Linked DNA regions of Homo sapiens: all the other regions are linked to region 1. Evidence: promoter capture Hi-C in human tissues and cell types (Jung and others, 2019). All regions are on one chromosome and are shown on one strand. The core of a region is centred on a gene start or on the middle of the fragment in contact, and the rest is flanking DNA. Distances in the headings are between cores, read along the strand shown.

Region 1 (2,710 bases), core at 60-2,559:
ACAGTTGAGCAATTTGGGGAGTTTTGGATGGGGCAATTTGTTTAGCATCCAAACCTTTTACAAAGCACGCCTTTCTTATCACCCATTCCCCAAATTACAAAAGCAGAGAAGATCATGATCAGCGGGCATGGGACAAAAGAGGCAATCTTTTTTATTTTTGTTTTTCTTTAACAATCTGAAACAACGGCCACTCCTACAAGCACAGTTTTCCAAGAATACCCAACCCAGGACAAGTTAAAGAACTGCCAGCACACAAGGGAAGAAGGAAAAAGGAAAGAACGACAAGGCCCAGAGCGATCAGGGCTAACACAGAAACCCCCTGGGGCACCCAAACAGGAAGAGGGGACTCGAGTGATGAAATCCACAAGCTGCTTCCATGAAATCAACATGTTTGAAAAAGGGACCTCCTCAAAGAAAACGAGATTCCAACTCTCTTCAGCGCAGTGCGAGCCACCGGTGGCAGGCACCGTTGCAGGGAACCTGAACTAACTCCATGCCATGCAGCCCCCAACTTTCTGGCCTGAGGATGCGCAGTCCCCGAACCCAACCACTCCTGTGCACATCTCCTTGTAAGTTATCTCCCCAGCCTGCTCACCCATTTGTGGCTTGGAAAACATAAATTGCGGGCTTTGCTCCCCAAGACGGCTGAAGGACGGACCCTTCGCTGATGGCCACGGGCCCTAATAGAAACAAACTAAGACTGTCTCCTAGGCACCTTAAATAACTGCAAACAAGCACTGTACCACGTGGAAGTCACACTTGGGTGGGGGGCAGTGTCACATCACCAGGCAGCCACCACAAACCTAGAATTTTCATGGTCCTGAGATGTCGCATTCCCCTTCTTATAAAGAATGGAAGACGGCAGCCCAGGGGCTCACAGGGACTAGCGTTGTCACATGGCTAGTTGGTGACCCAGCCACAAAGAGCCTAGCTATCCTGATTCCTAGGTGGAGATTTCTATCCCCTGGGCCTTTCCTCTTCCAAACCACGACTCTCAAAACAGTGATCATTTTAGAATCCACAAGTGTGGCTGATTAATAACACTGTCGATCGTAAGAGTGTAGCAGCAAAAGCTGTAATAAAAGCAATAACCGTAACATTAAGAAGAAAACAACTTGAACATTGTGGAGAGCTTTGTGTTTTTCACTTCTGCGGCCCAAAGCCAGCCAAGTTCCTTGAAGTCAGCACCGAGAGGTATTTGCAAGAATTAAGTGAATCAAAGTCCTTGAAAGAGCGAGGAAGCGCCCCTGCCCCGGCGGCGGTACTCACCAGCGCTCCCTCCGCAGGTGCTGGGCTGGAGGCGGCGGCCAGGTGGAGCGCAGCGCCCCGGGTATATATGGCGAAGGTGTTGCGCAAAGAGGCTGGCCGCTGTCATCACGCCCCTCGCACATTCCAGGACCGCCTGCCGCAGCCGCCGCCGGGGCACTGCCTACCTGCCGCCTTAATGAACCCATCGCGACTTCGCCCGCTGCGCGGAGAAGACGCGCGGCCAGCCAGGCTGCCGAGAGAAAAGCTCCGACGGGCCCCGCCGCGCGAACTGGCCCGAACGGCCCCAAACGGCCCCGCGCCCCTCGGCGCCCCGCGCGCCCTAGCCTGGCTGGTGCGCGCCCTCTCCCGCCCCGACTCGGTCCGCACGAGATTCCCGCAAGTGGGGCTCTCCCGCCCCTGCCTTCTCCTCAAGAACTTGAACCTTCTAGTCTAGCTCCTGTGAGGCTCAAGAGGTCAGAGACGTGAAGACACAGATAAAAGCCAGTTGGAAAGTCAGGGATAAAGCCCTTGGAAACAAAGCCTGGATTGTTCACCTTTATCAGTCTGTGGGGCGCTTTCTGCCCTGGGAGTCTGGGCTCTAGGTCCGCAATGGGAAAGGCTGGGACCGTCAAGCTGAGGAAAAGGAAGGGGGCTGTTCTCACCACTCCGTCCTAAGCCTGCTGCGGGTTTGGCAAACCACTGCGCTCGTTTCACATCCTGCTCTGCCTCGTGTCACCTGCGTGTGTATACAACAGTTCTCCAAACTGCTGTGAGATAGGATCTGTCCCAGGGAGAGTCCACCCCCATGCTTATCCCAACAGCTCCCCAGTTCTGTGCCGGGCACTGCTGGGCAGGCTTTGTCTCCAATGTGCACACGAAAGCCTTCCCTGGGGCTAAGACTGGCGCCCTCTCTAGCTGAGGTTTAAGGGGTTAGGGGATATGATACAATTACCCAGGATTTGCTGAGCAGGAAGAAAACCTGCTTCTTATTCTGAAACCCAGACCCTCTCCTCTGCTGCGCACTCTCCTGGTTTTATAGTGGAGCACAGTGAGGCTCAGTGAGCTTACTAGTTGCCCAGCTCCTCACAACAGCGGAAGCACCCTACTGGAATTAGCTGGTTTCATTCCAACATCGAGTTCTCTCCACTGTGCAAGGGGAAGGACTCGGGAGCACGACTTCCAGGAGCCTAGAGCTCTGGGGCTGGTGTTGGCGGTGGCTAAGCACACTGACTCTGGGCCGAAACTCCGGGAAATCAGTTCCCTGTTCTGCCCCTTGCTTTCCCTGGCTCCATTTGCTTATGTGCAAACTGGGAATAATGGTCCCCGTTGGAGTAAAGTGAGCTAAAATATGTAAAGAATGTGGAATGGTACTTGGCACATAAATAGTATTCAGTGCGAGTTAACCATGATCGTTTTCACAGGGAAACTCTGGTGTTGGGAGAAGATGGGTGGGAAGCCTTGA
Region 2 (2,710 bases), core at 73-2,572, 180 kb after region 1:
TTAATTAGGTCCCATTTGTCAATTTTTGTTTTGGTTGCAATTGCTTTTGGCATCTTCATCATGAAACCTTTGCCAGGGCCTATGTCCAGAATGGTATTTCCTAGGTTTTCTTCAAAGGTTGTTATAGTTTTACATTTTACATTTAAGTCTTTAATCCATCTTGAGTTGCTTTCTGTATATCGTGTAAGGAAGGGGCCCAATTTCAATCTTCTGCATGTGGCTAGCCAGTTATCTCAGCACCATTTATTGAATAGTGAGTCCTTTCCCCATTGCTTGTATTTGTCAACGCTGTCAAAGATCAGATGATTGTAGGTGTGTGGCTTTATTTCTGGGCTCTCTATTCTGTTCCATTGGTCTATGTATCTGCTTTTGTTCCACTACCATGCTGTTTTGGTTATTGTAGCCTTGTTGTAGAGTTTGAAGTTGGGCAATGTGATGCCTCCAGCTATGTTCTTTCTGCATAGGATTACTTTGGCTGTTCAGGCTCCGTTTTTGGTTCCGTATGAAATTTAGAATAGTTTTTTCTAATTCTGAGAAATATGTCATTGGTAGTTTGATAGAAATAGCATTGAATCTGTAAATTGCCTTGGGCAGTATAGCCATTTTAACAATATTGATTCTTCCTATCCATAAGCATGGAATGTTTTTCCATTTGTTTGCGTGTGTGTGTGTGTGTGTGTGTGTGTATACACATACACAATCAAATGTAAATATATATTCTTTTTTTTTTTTTTGAGACAGTGTCTTGCTCTTGTCACCCAGGTTGGAGTGCAGTGACATGATCTTGGTGCACTGCAATATCCACCTCTAGGGTTCAAGCAATTCTCCTGCCTCAGCCTCTTGAATAGCTGGGATTACAAGCACCCAACACCATGCCCAGCTAATTTTTGTATTTTTAGTACAAACAGGGTGTCACCATGTTGGCCAGGCTGGTCTTGAACTCCCGAACTCAGGTGATCCGCCCACCTCGGCCTCCCAAAGTGCTGGGATTGCAGGCACGAGCCACCACGCTGGGCAAATATATATTCTTATTTCTCCCATTTTCTTACCCAAAAGTTAGCCTTTTCTGAAACATTCTTCCCTACTTTGTTTTTTCACTTAGTAATATATTTTAGAATTTTTTCCAAATTATTACATAGTGTCCTCATTCTTTTTTTCAGCCACATAACATTTAATTGTATGAGTAAACCATCATTTATTTAGCAATATTCTAATTGACAATTTTGTTGTTTCCAATATTTTGAAGCTTAAACAGTGCCACAGTGAATGACTTTGTGTGCACATTTTTGTACACATACACAAGTATCTGCAGATAAATTCCCCAGGGGTAGAAGTGGTGAGTCAAGCAAAAGCATCATATTCCCACATGGCCCCACAGGATGGATGCTGTTTAGCCATCCAAAAGCAATGTGTTAGAGCATGTGTCTCCCCACAGCTTCACCAACAGAGTGTGTTACCAAATTTGTGACATCCTGCCAATCTCAGAGATAAAAATGTTAGCTCAATGTCATTTTAGTTTATTTTTCTTATTATGAGTAAAGTTGGGCATATTTCCATCAATTTAAGAACCGTTTATACTTCCTTTGCTTTATTTTTCTTTTTTTATTCTTTTGAGATGGAGTTTCATTCTTGTTGCCCCAGGCTGGCGTGCAATGGCACGATCTCAGCTCACTGCAACATCCGCCTCCCAGGTTCAAGCGATTCTTGTGCTTCAGCCTCCCAAGTAGCTGGGATTACAGGCGCCCACCACCACACCCGGCTAATTTCTTGCATGTTTAGTAGAGACGGGGTTTCACCATGTTGGCTAGGCTGGTCTTGAACTCCTCACCTCAGGTGATCTGCCCGCCTCAGTCTCCTAAAGTGCTGGGATTACAGGCGTGAGTCATCACGCTGGGCCCTTCCTTTGCTTTAAACTACCTGTTTATTTGTTCACTTACTTACTTATTTAACTTATTTTTGCTCATTGAAAAAAAAAATCACACAAAACCTATATTAGTTTCTAACAAAAAGGCATGAATTATAGGAATAGCAAAAGACTCATAGAGAAATTAAAATTTATCTGAAAGCCATCTTTAGTCAGGAAGACTTCTTCACAGACAAATAAGTAGTTAAATATATAAATCCTAAATATATCACACCATAAGCTATTTTTTTCTTCCTCTTTGGTTATGAGCTATTCCAGGGAGATTTAATAAGAGCTTTTTATTCAAGGATTTCCAAAAATGTCTACTCTAAAACACAAAGTGAAATTGCTCTTACAAAAATGTTGGTTTGATGAAAAGATAGAGTTCAGTCTGTTTTAGACGAATTTGGTTAGATTTTATTTATTTATACTTAACAACCAATGCGATACTATAGTTTTAAACTATACTTCATGTTACTACCATCATTTACTCAGAAGGCAATACTTTTTTTTAAAAAAAAAAGGGCAAACTAAATTTTAAATTAGGTTTCAGAATTCTACTCATAAATAGTCAATCAATATTGACATAGATGCCATCAAGTATGCAAAGATGAACAGAATTTCAGTTACAAAATTTGGAGGAAAAAGCTTAATAACATATAAAAATACTGACAAATTTAAGCTAGGATTGGCTCTAGGACATTTTATCTTATTTTTATACTTGTAAAAGGATGGATGACTAGACAGCACCAGAAATGCTGCCAAAACTATTGTTTGGTAAGAGTTGTTCATATTATTATTATTATT
Region 3 (2,710 bases), core at 107-2,606, 150 kb after region 1:
GAGCAGTGCCTGGCACATAAAAGGGTTGCATAGATGTTATACACTTACTAAGCAAATACTTTAATAAGTAGATCCCATAGCACAGGTGATTAATTTAACAAGACGACTTGATGTGACTGGGCGATTTAATTAACTAGAGGCTAAATGGATTTTCCTGAATCACTAATCCAGGAACACAGCCTCTCCGGTTTGCTGAAATGTAGCCATGCCTATGGTAATTTCTGGAAATATTGCTTATTCATAAAGGGACTTTCTCAGTACAGTGTGTGGAGAAGCCTAGAATTGAGGTAGAGAAGGAAAGCCAAAGGGCTATATTGTCTTCGATTATTCAAAAAACTGGTCTGCAAATTAAGGATTAAGTTTATTCTGTGGTTCCCTGAGGGGTGGAATTAAATCCAATAGGAGAAAATGACAGGGAACAGATTTCTACTCAGAATAAGGAAGGACGTTTTGTCCATCAGAGCTTTCAGAAAAAAGGGTGGGGGGAGGCTGTCTCTGAAAGTAATGAGCCTCCTGTCACTGGAGGTGACCAACCCTAGGCTGCATGAGCCCTTAAGTCCTATGTCTGTGTAGTGTTTTAGAGCTTCATATACATGCATGAGCTCGAAAGGAAGTTTATTGTCCTTATCCCCTTTTTACAGATGAAGAAATTGAGGTTTTGGGGAATATGCCCCTTGCCAGGTGTCACACAGGAGGGAGGTGGCACCACCAGGATGGGACCTCAGGTCTTTTAACTTCAACACAGGTGCTCAGTCCACTCAGGCAAGCCCCAGTGAGAGCGGTTATTCACCAATCCTGGCTCATCACTGGGTCACTGGGAATGCTTGGGGAACTTTTTTTTTTTTTTTTTTTTGAGATGTGTCTCACTTCGTCACCCAGGCTGGAGTGCAGTGGTGCCATCTCGGCTGACTGCAACCTCCGCCTCCCAGGTTCAAGTGGTTCTCCTGCCTCAGTCTCCTGACTAGCTGGGATTACAGGCACGCACCACGACGCCTGGCTAATTTTTGTATTTTTAGTAGAGATGGGGTCTCACCATATTGGCCACGCTGGTCCCAAACTCAAGTGATCTGCCTGTCTCAGCCTCCCAAAGTGCTGGGATTACAGGTGGGAGCCACCTCGCCTGGCCTCCATTTCTTAAGCTAAGTGGAACACAGGATGATGTGGTGACTCAGCCCCTCCACTGTTTTATATGACTGAGCTAATTCACTATAAAAATTTTAAGGCTTCTCATTGATGCTGTAAGCAACTAGGTTTGGGATCCATTAGGTGATCTCTAGGGTCTTTCTCAACCCTAAAATTATCTGACTTAAACAGCTGGAATGTGGGGGCAATTTCTGTAGCTCTACTGTAATTAGACCTGGTTCCCGCTGGGTTTACTAGTCACAGTTGTCAACGCAGTGCCCACGAGCCCACTCCCTGGCACAGAGTCAGAGATTTCGCTGTTGATCCAGACATTCAGCCAGCCCTGATGAAACCAGCTGCTCTCAGCAGTTCCAGGGCCATCATCACCTCTCTGGCTGCTGGAGCATCTGAGAGCATCCTGCAAAGTTTCTGGGTTGGCCCCATGTCAAGAAGAGCAGCTGCTGGCAGCAGGGGACTCAGTCAGTGTGTGTCCTACAAACCTCTTTAGGTAATTCTGCTTTAATCTGCCGCTCTCACATTTGGTTACAAGGATGACTGGTTTCACAGCACAGACTGACATGCAGCTGTCCCCACCGGCCACTGTCTCCAGGAGTTAAGCTGTGCGGGAGTTGCTTAAGCACAGGGTGGCAGGTGCAAGGTAAGAGGCAGAGCCCGTGCAGCCTCCATCCTTAGGAATGACTGAGTAGGACTGGCCAGGAGCTTGGGACTACCGGCCCCACATTCAGCCTGACCTGATTACTGTTTACAAGCAGAGAAGCCAAGAGGTTTGTGTAGAAATGAGAGTGTGCATAATCCAAGCGTGGAAGAATCCACCCACCCACAGTCCTCCAAGCTTTACAGAGCATCTCAAGAATCAGAATACCCAGGGACATAGTATGTTTCTATCATTGCTTAAGCCAGCAGTTTCCAAAGTGGGGGTGAATGCACCCCAGACATCACAAGACAATTCATGAAGGTGAAGGGACATAACAGAACCTCTGTAATCTTGATCTCTTTTTGTTTGTTTGTGCTTTTTTTTGTTTGTTTGTTTTCAGACAGGGTCTTACTCTGTCACCCAGGCTGGAGTGCAGTGGCACGATCTTGGCTCACTGCAACCTCCTCCTCCTGGGTTCAAGCAATTCTCCTGCCTCAGCCTCCCGAGTAGCTGGGATTACAGGCACATGCCACCATGCCTGGCTAATTTTTTTGTATTTTTTTGGTGGAGATGGGGTTTCACCATGTTAGCCAGGCAGGTCTTGAACTCCTGGCCTCAAGTGATCCACCTGTCTCAGCCCCCTCAAAGTGCTGGGATTACCGCCTATCTTAATCTTAAATTTATAATTTTAAAGTATTTTATAAGGTACCTATTTTGCTGCACAACAATCATCATAATAAGTAATGTCAATGAGTTTTTATTCTATGTCAGGCAACATTCTAATAGCTTACATATATCATTTCATTGAACCCCCACAACTCTATGAGGTAGGTATTATTAATTCTACTTTCCAGGCACAGAAAGGTCAAGCTATCCCTCTAAGATCACATAGTAGACAGGTGGCAGAACTGGGATTCGAACTCCATGGTCTGG

What was found. Contacts are between HindIII fragments. The study calls those that stand out against the background at their distance.
Region 2: a fragment that was not itself captured here is called in contact with the fragment with the promoter of SLC34A2 in region 1 in 3 of the 25 tissues and cell types used here (H1 embryonic stem cells, aorta and small bowel).
Region 3: a fragment that was not itself captured here is called in contact with the fragment with the promoter of SLC34A2 in region 1 in 1 of the 25 tissues and cell types used here (IMR-90 fibroblasts).

Annotation. Positions count from the first base shown.
Region 1 is chr4:25,654,450-25,657,159 of GRCh38, reverse strand. SLC34A2 (solute carrier family 34 member 2) reads right to left here and starts at 1,309. Exons shown (of 13, transcript NM_006424.3): 1 at 1,270-1,309. RefSeq lists an enhancer at 946-1,859. The HindIII fragment of the contact is 21,396 bases long and covers 1-2,710 here.
Region 2 is chr4:25,476,101-25,478,810 of GRCh38, reverse strand. No RefSeq gene overlaps it. Among named protein-coding and RNA genes, the nearest start is that of ANAPC4, 100 kb to the right of the region's middle. The HindIII fragment of the contact is 4,875 bases long and covers 1-2,710 here.
Region 3 is chr4:25,499,848-25,502,557 of GRCh38, reverse strand. No RefSeq gene overlaps it. Among named protein-coding and RNA genes, the nearest start is that of ANAPC4, 120 kb to the right of the region's middle. The HindIII fragment of the contact is 7,490 bases long and covers 1-2,710 here.